Linked DNA regions of Homo sapiens: region 1 is linked to region 2. The links are contacts of gene promoters, found by promoter capture Hi-C in human tissues and cell types (Jung and others, 2019). All regions are on one chromosome and are shown on one strand. Each heading gives the region's core, a stretch centred on a gene start or on the middle of the fragment in contact. The rest is flanking DNA. Distances are from core to core; before and after follow the strand shown.

What was found. The method cuts DNA at HindIII sites, captures the fragments that hold promoters and counts their contacts. A contact is called where the count stands out against the background at its distance.
Region 1: a fragment that was not itself captured here is called in contact with the fragment with the promoter of ZNF620 in region 2 in 1 of the 25 tissues and cell types used here (aorta).

The regions. Positions count from the first base shown.
Region 1 is chr3:40,298,735-40,302,302 of GRCh38, reverse strand. EIF1B-AS1 (EIF1B antisense RNA 1) reads left to right here. Exons shown (of 3, transcript NR_033965.1): 2 at 907-1,066. Among named protein-coding and RNA genes, the nearest start is that of EIF1B-AS1, 9.2 kb to the left of the region's middle. RefSeq lists an enhancer at 379-1,578. The HindIII fragment of the contact is 3,202 bases long and covers 204-3,405 here.
Region 2 is chr3:40,504,103-40,507,901 of GRCh38, reverse strand. It overlaps ZNF620 (zinc finger protein 620), which reads right to left and starts at 1,863. Exons shown (of 5, transcript NM_175888.4): 1 at 1,764-1,863; 2 at 1,526-1,598. The coding sequence starts at 1,549. The HindIII fragment of the contact is 12,099 bases long and covers 1-3,799 here.

The DNA.
Region 1 (3,568 bases), core at 555-3,054, 210 kb after region 2:
GTTAATTATCTTTTTAAGAGGTTTAATAGGAAAAAATTTACCCAAAAAGTTACCATTTCTAGTGCTTTTCATTTTTTGTGTAGATCCATATTTTTTATCTGGTGTTATTTTCTTTCTGCTGGCAGAACTTCCTTTGTTATTTTTTGTAGTGTGGGTCTGAAGGTGATGAATTCTTAAAGTTTTTGCATGTCTGAAATATTTTTATTTAACCTTCATTTTTGAAAGACTGGTTTTGTTGGGTATAGGATTCTATGTTGACAATTGTTGTTGTTGTTTTCTAATAGAGACGGGGCTTGCTAGGTTGGTTGCCCAGGCTGCTCTCAAACTCCAGGCTCAAGTGATCCTTCCCTGTTGGACTCCCAAAGTGTTAGGATTACAGGCTTGCACTATTCATGCCTGGCCTATTTTTTTTTTCCTCTCAGAACTTTAAAGTTGTGGCTCCACTGTCTTCTTATTTACATTGTCTGTAAACAATGAGAAATCTGCTGTCATTGTATCTTTGGTCCCTTGTATGTAAAATTTTTTTTTTCTCTGACTGCTTTTAAGATTTTTGCCTTTATCACTAGTTTTGAACAATTTGAGCAATTTGATTATTATGTGCCTTGGTGTAGAGATTTTATGTTTCCTGTGTTTAAGGGTCATTAAGCTTCTAGGATCTCAGTTATAATTTTCATCAAATTTTAAAAATTTTTCTCCATTATTCCTTAGAATTTTTCTGTCCCACTCTTCTCTCCTCTACTTTGGAAACTCCAGTTGCACATATTTAAGGCTAATTAAAGTTGTTCATAGTTCACTGATACTCTTATTTTTTTTCTTTTTTCTCTCTCTATATGATGGCTTTATAATATAAAAACTTGGCTAGGCTGAACTACATTTCACAGACTTTCCTTTCTTGTGTATTTACAGATTGGGTGGATCACAAGAACTAATCTTTCATGATTTGGAAACCGGAAGGAAAGAAGCACTTTTGTAGCTGACTTACCTCAATGACATGACCAGTGTCTGAGCCTACAACTGCGCTATCTTCCCTGGATTTTTCTTCACCTTTTCCTTACTCATGAGCCAGGTATGTGTTTTTAGTTCCATAAAAAAGAGCCCTGGCCAGGCGTGGTGGCTCACACCTGTAATCTCAGCACTTTGGGAGGCTGTGGCAGGCAGACCACTTGAGCTCAGGAGTTTGATACCAGGATGGGCAACATGGTGAAACCCCGATCTATAAAAAATACAAAAAATTATCCAGGCATGGTGGCATGAGCCACTATTCCCAGCTACTCAGGAGGCTGAGGTGGGAGGATGTCTTGAGTCTGGGAGGTGGAGGTTGCACTGAGCCGAGATAAGTGCCACTGTGCTCTAGCCTGGTTGACAGAACCAGAGCCTGTCTCAAAAAAACAAAAAAAAGAAAAAAGAAAAAAAAAATTACCATTCCACTAAGGTCAGAGGCAACAAAAAAAGACATGGATTTCAGTCTATCCTCATGGAGTACTAGCTCACGATTACAGGGTTTCAGCTTGCTTGTGATAGTCTTTTCCTGACATTCCCTTACTGACTGCTTTCCCTATGGACTCTATATCAGATGCAGAGACACAGCCTTACAGAAGCTGCTTAACCAACTCTAATAACCACATAAGCCAATTCCCTGTAACAAGTTTCTTTATATATGTATGTATGTGTTCGACTAGAGAAGCAGGACCAGTGTGAGGTATACAGAGGTACTATTCCCAGACTGTGTGCATATTGCATACTGATTCCCCTTCGTCTTTTAGGTGTTTATTTCCTAGGCTTCACAGTTTCCTTACAATTCCTTACATTAGTATTCTGCTGAATACATGGGGAGGACTAAAGAACTTTCCAGCGTTCCCTCTCTGTGAAGCCCTCTCCTCTCTAATATTCTGCTTGCAAACTCTAGCTGCCCTAATATTTTTGCACTCCACTTTTTCTACTTATGGAGTCTGCTGGGGGTCTGCCTGTGTTCCCTCTCTGCTGTGACTAGAACGTGTTCCCTAAAGTTTGTGTGTTAGAAGCTTAATCTCCAATGTAACAATATTGAGAGTTGGGACTTTCAAGGGATGATTAGGTCATGAGGATGATTAGGTCATGATTAGGGCATTAGCTCTGCCCTCATGAAAGAATTAATGTTGTTGTTATGGGAGTGGGTTAGTTATTGCAGGAGCAAGTTCCTGATAAAAGGATGAGTTTTGCTCCCTTCCCCTGTGTGCTCTCTTGCTCTTCTGCTTTCTGCCATGGAATGACTCAGCAAGAAGGCCCTCACCAGATGCACTCTTCTTGACCTTGGACTTCCCAGTTTCCGGAACTGTGAGAAATGAATTTCTTTTCTTTAGAAATTGCTTAATCTGTGGTATTCAGTTATAGCAACATAATATGGACTAAGACAGAAAATTGGTACTGAGAAGTAGGGCTGTTGCTATGAGAAATACCCACAAATGTGGAAGTGGCTTAGGAACTGGATAATGGATAGAGGCTGGAAGAATTTGGTGTAGCAAGGTAGAAAAAGCTTGGATTGCTGTGAATGGTGCATTAAGGGCAATCCTGGTGAGGGCTCAAAAACAGAGAAGACGAGAGAAAGTCTGGAACTTATTAGAGATTATTTAGGTGGTTGTGACCAGCATAATGAAAGAAATATGGACAGTAAAGGCCATTCTGATGAGGTTTCAGATGGAACTGAAGAACAAGGTATTGGAAACTAGAGCAAAGGCCACCCTTGTTATAAAGTAGCAAATAACTGGGCTGAACAGTGTCCGTGCCCAGAGGCTTTATGAAGGGTGAAAGTTAAGAGTGATGGACTAGGATATCTGGTGAAAGAAATATCTAAACAGCAAGTCCTCCATGCTGTGCATGGCTACTTTTAACTTCTTACAGTAAAATAAGACAGGAAAGAGACGATTTAAAGACAGAATTTATCGTTAAAAAGTCCGTATGCATTCTGTCCTGCCCTTCTGCCTTCTACTGTGGGATGATGCAGCAAAAAAGTCTTCACCATATGCAAGCCCTTCACTGTGGACTTGCCAGCATCCAGAACTGTGAGAAATGAGTTCCTTTATAAAATAAATTACCCAGTTTGTGGTATTCTGTTATAGTAACACAAAACAGACTAAGACACCTTTTCTGTGCTCCGGCCTGGGACACTCTTTCAAGGCAGAAAGATGGGCCAATTGCAGGGCTCACCTTATTTGTTTCCCATCCCTCAGGAATCACTGTCCTTTGTTTGATGTGGAGTGTTTTGAAAAACTGTTGTTTCTTATATTTTGTCCTGTGATTTGGTTGTTTTAGGTGGAAGAGTAAATTCAGTCCTTGTTACTTCATCTAAGTTGAAAGCAAAGTTTCAATACATGTATTTTGAATGTAAGAATAAATTTCTCTTTGGCATCTATCATGAAATTAAACCTTGAATTATGAATATATCTGATACTTAGGAAAAAAATTAACTTTTTTAGAGTGATGACCCTTTATCCACCAGTGGTGTGTGTGTGTGTGTGTGTCCATGTGCACACACACATGCACAAATTTTTTATCTACCGGTGGTGTAAATTTGTTATTGTACTAAAAACCT
Region 2 (3,799 bases), core at 614-3,113:
GTCCCAGGTACCTGGGAGGCTGAGCGGGGAGGATTGCTTGAGCCCAATTTGAGGTCAGCCTGGGCAACATAGAGAAAACCGTTGTCAAAAAATAAAAATAAATAAATAAAAAGAGATAACCAGAGTAGCCCCTGTATCTACCAAAGGACTCAAAACTGTACTTAAAAACCTTATCAGAAAGAAAACCCCATGCCTAGATAGCTTCACTGTTGAATTCTACCAAACATTTAAGGAAGAAATGCAGTCAACTCTACATAAATTCTTCCAAAATATTAAAGAGGAGGGAATATTTCTCATTCTATGGAACAAAGACATCACAAGAAAAGAAAACTGCAAATCAATACCTCATAAACATAGATACAGAAATTCTAAATAAAATTTTAACAAATTAAATTCAATATATAGTACTAATAAAATAATAATACACCATGACGAAGTCGGTTTTATCCCACCGCAGAGTTGGTTTAATATTTGAAAGAAAAATCATGTAATTCACCACATTAACAAAGAGAGGCTGGGCACGGTGGCTCACGCCTGTAATCCCAGCACTTTGGGAAGCCAAGGTGGGGGAATCACGAGGTCAAGGGATCGAGACCATCCTGGCCAACATGGTGAAACCTGGTCTCTACTAAAAATACAAAAATTAGCTGGGTGTGGTGGCGCGTGCTTGTAGTCCCAGCTACTCGGGAGGCTGAGGCAGGAGAATCGCTTGAACCCCAGAGGTGGAGGGTGCAGTGAACCAGGATCGCGCCACTGCACTCCAGCCTGTCGATAGAGCAAGACTCCATCTCAAAAAAAAAAAAAAAAAAAAACCATATGGTCATCTAAATAGACACAGAAAAAGCAATTGTCAAAATCCAACATCCATTCCTATAAAAACTCTCACCAAAGTAGTACTAGAAGAGAATGCCTGATAAAGGACATTTACAAAACAAAACAAAACAAAAAAGCAAGAAACCTACAGTGAACATCAGTCTTCAGTGTGAAAGATTGAATGCTTTCACTTTAAAAGCATAAATAAGACAAAGATATCTGCTCTCACCACTTCTGTTCAATATTGAAATAATGCTTCTAGCCAGTGCAGTAAGGCAAGACAAAATAAAATAAAAGGCATCCAGACTGGAAAGAAAGGAGTAAAACTATCTTTACTCATAGATGACCTATGTAGAAAATACAATGGAATCTACAAAACAGTTACTAGAATTGCTATACTGAAGAAGTAAGTACTTCTCCAAGCCTGCGGACTAGGGTGAAAGGGGTCTTTATTGGATGTAATAATGCAGATTTCCACATTTCATAATTTTTATTTTTAAGCTGGCTTCAAATGCCAAATCCCAACCAATCCCCCCACACTCACTAGTTTTCTAGTCTTAATTTGGGCATTCTCACCTCTCCATCCCTCTCATAGTGACAGATGCACAATGGAAGCCACTGGCCTACACAACTCAAGATCTGAATGCAGAGGTGACACCTGCTCTCTCTTGACATCTAAAGGGTGGGAGGGAGGGAGAGGATGCTCACTCACCTGGCGCCAAGCGGTCTGGAACATGGCTGGCGTCCCAGCTTCACACACTGCCTCAGGGTTCGGAGAAGTGAAACTGAAGAGAAAATAAAGAAGCACCGGTGAGATTGATGCTGCCTCGCACCCCGCAAATGCCCTCTGTGCTACTTGGGCCCCTCTCCTTTCCGCCAACTCCTCACCCCAAAAAGCAAAGGGGTTGCAAAACCAGGCAGAACAAGCCCCAGGAAAACCAATCAGTTACCCGGACCGCGAACCTCTTCAGCTCGGACCGCGAATCCCGCGCGGCGCAGGCGCAGATAAAGCGTGGAAATTCCACCTGCCGCCGACACCGGGGAAAGCTTGAGACCCTCCGCCGGAAGTGCGTTTTCCATGCCCCTCCTCTCTAGGAACCTGGGAAGTTGCCAGTCTCTGTGGTTTCCTACCCCCGCCGTCAGCGCCAGTGTCCCTACTGCCTGAGACAACACGGGCCCGAGCGGGCGGCCCCAGGCAGGGGTCCTGCAGCGCCCACACCTGGTAGCTCCTTCGGGGCATGACGTCTGGCCAGCTCAGGCCACAGAATGGTTACTATCCTGGGTATTATTCGTGGTTATCTGGCATTTGCCACTCTGGGTGTCCTTCCAGATAATGAAGGGACCATCGCGCCCTTCACATGCGCCAAAACTGTCTGGATTGTGTGGGTGCGCTGCAGTGGGAAAAGTGGGTGTGGGGAAAGGCGAACCCATTACTCAGAAGGCCGAATGTGTATGGACTACGTAGGTCCAGAAACCCAGCTGCACCACTTGCTAGTTGTGTGACCTGCAGCAAGTTTCTTTGCCCCGGTTTCCTTGTCTATTAAATGGGTATTATGATGGTGGTACCAACCTCTTGAGGCTGTTCAGGGTTAATTCATTAAATTAGTTAATTGATAGGTAAATTATTTACAGTTGTGCCTGGCACATAGTATGTACTCGTGAGTTTGTATTGTTTTGTTTTCCAATTGTGTTTTTTGAAGACACAAAATAGGTGCTGCTGGGACTCCAATATGTGGCGTGCTTTAGGGAAATAGATTTTTTTAAGGACAATTTTCGAAGTTTAGCGAAAGAGCTATTAACATTTGGCTTAGAGCCCTTTCCTGCCCTGTACTGGGATGTGTGTCCCGGCCCAGCCTGGAAACAGATTTTAGTTATTCCTTCCACAGGAATTAGATTTATCCACCACTTTCAAAACAAGTCCTGCCATGGAGAGTATATTATGTATCTACTGCTGGATAATAAACTACTCTAATGCTTTGTGGCTAAAAACAATAAACATTGTTATCTTTTGACAGTTTCTGTGGACCCAGAATTCAAGAGCAGCTTGGCTGGGTGGTACTGGCTGAGGGTCTCTGCTGAGGTTGCAGTCAGGTGTCATGTGGGGCTGAAGTCATCTGAAGCTTGACTGAGTTTGGAGGATCCACCTCCAAGGTGGTTTACTCACATGGCTGTCAAGTGGGTGCTGGTTGTTGGCAGGAAGCGTCAGTTCCTTCCCATGTGAGGGTTTTCACAACATGGCATGTAGCTTTCTCCCAAAGTGAGCAATCCAAGAGGCCAAGGCCAAAGCTTTTATGACCTAGTTTTGGAAATCATGCATCATGATTTCCTCAATACATTCTCCTCAGATTAGTCATGATTCAGTGTGGGAAGAGATACACAAGGTTTGAATGCCAGGATATGAGAACCATTGGGAGCCATTGTGGGGCCACCTAGCACAGAGATTTTAACTGTCACAGAAACAGTTCATTTTATAAAATCTATAGTATTTTCACTTTAAAGTTTATGCACAGCACTTGTTTTAAATAATTAGATTTCCAGAAACAATGGCATGACAAGGACATACATGTGCATACTGTCCCTTCGCTAAACCTATTAAAATGAACATTTACCATGAGTGGGTGCACATAAACGTACATACATATACACCACAAATTCTAAACAGTATTAGCCAGTGGAAAAAAACATGATAAATTGGACTTAATCAAAGTTAAATCTTCTGCTTTTCAGAAGATACTTTTAGAGAATGAAAAGACAAGCCACAGACTGGGAGAAAATACCAAAAATATTTGATAAAAGACTTGTTTCCAAAATATATAAAGGACTCTCAAAACTCACTCATAAGAAAATAAACCAATTTTTAAAAATAGGCAAAAGATTTGAACAGATACTTCACCAAAGAAGATATATGGAAAGCAATTAAATATTTGAAAAGATGCTCAACATTGTTAGTCATTAGAGAAATGCAAATTAAAACCGCAGTGAAACA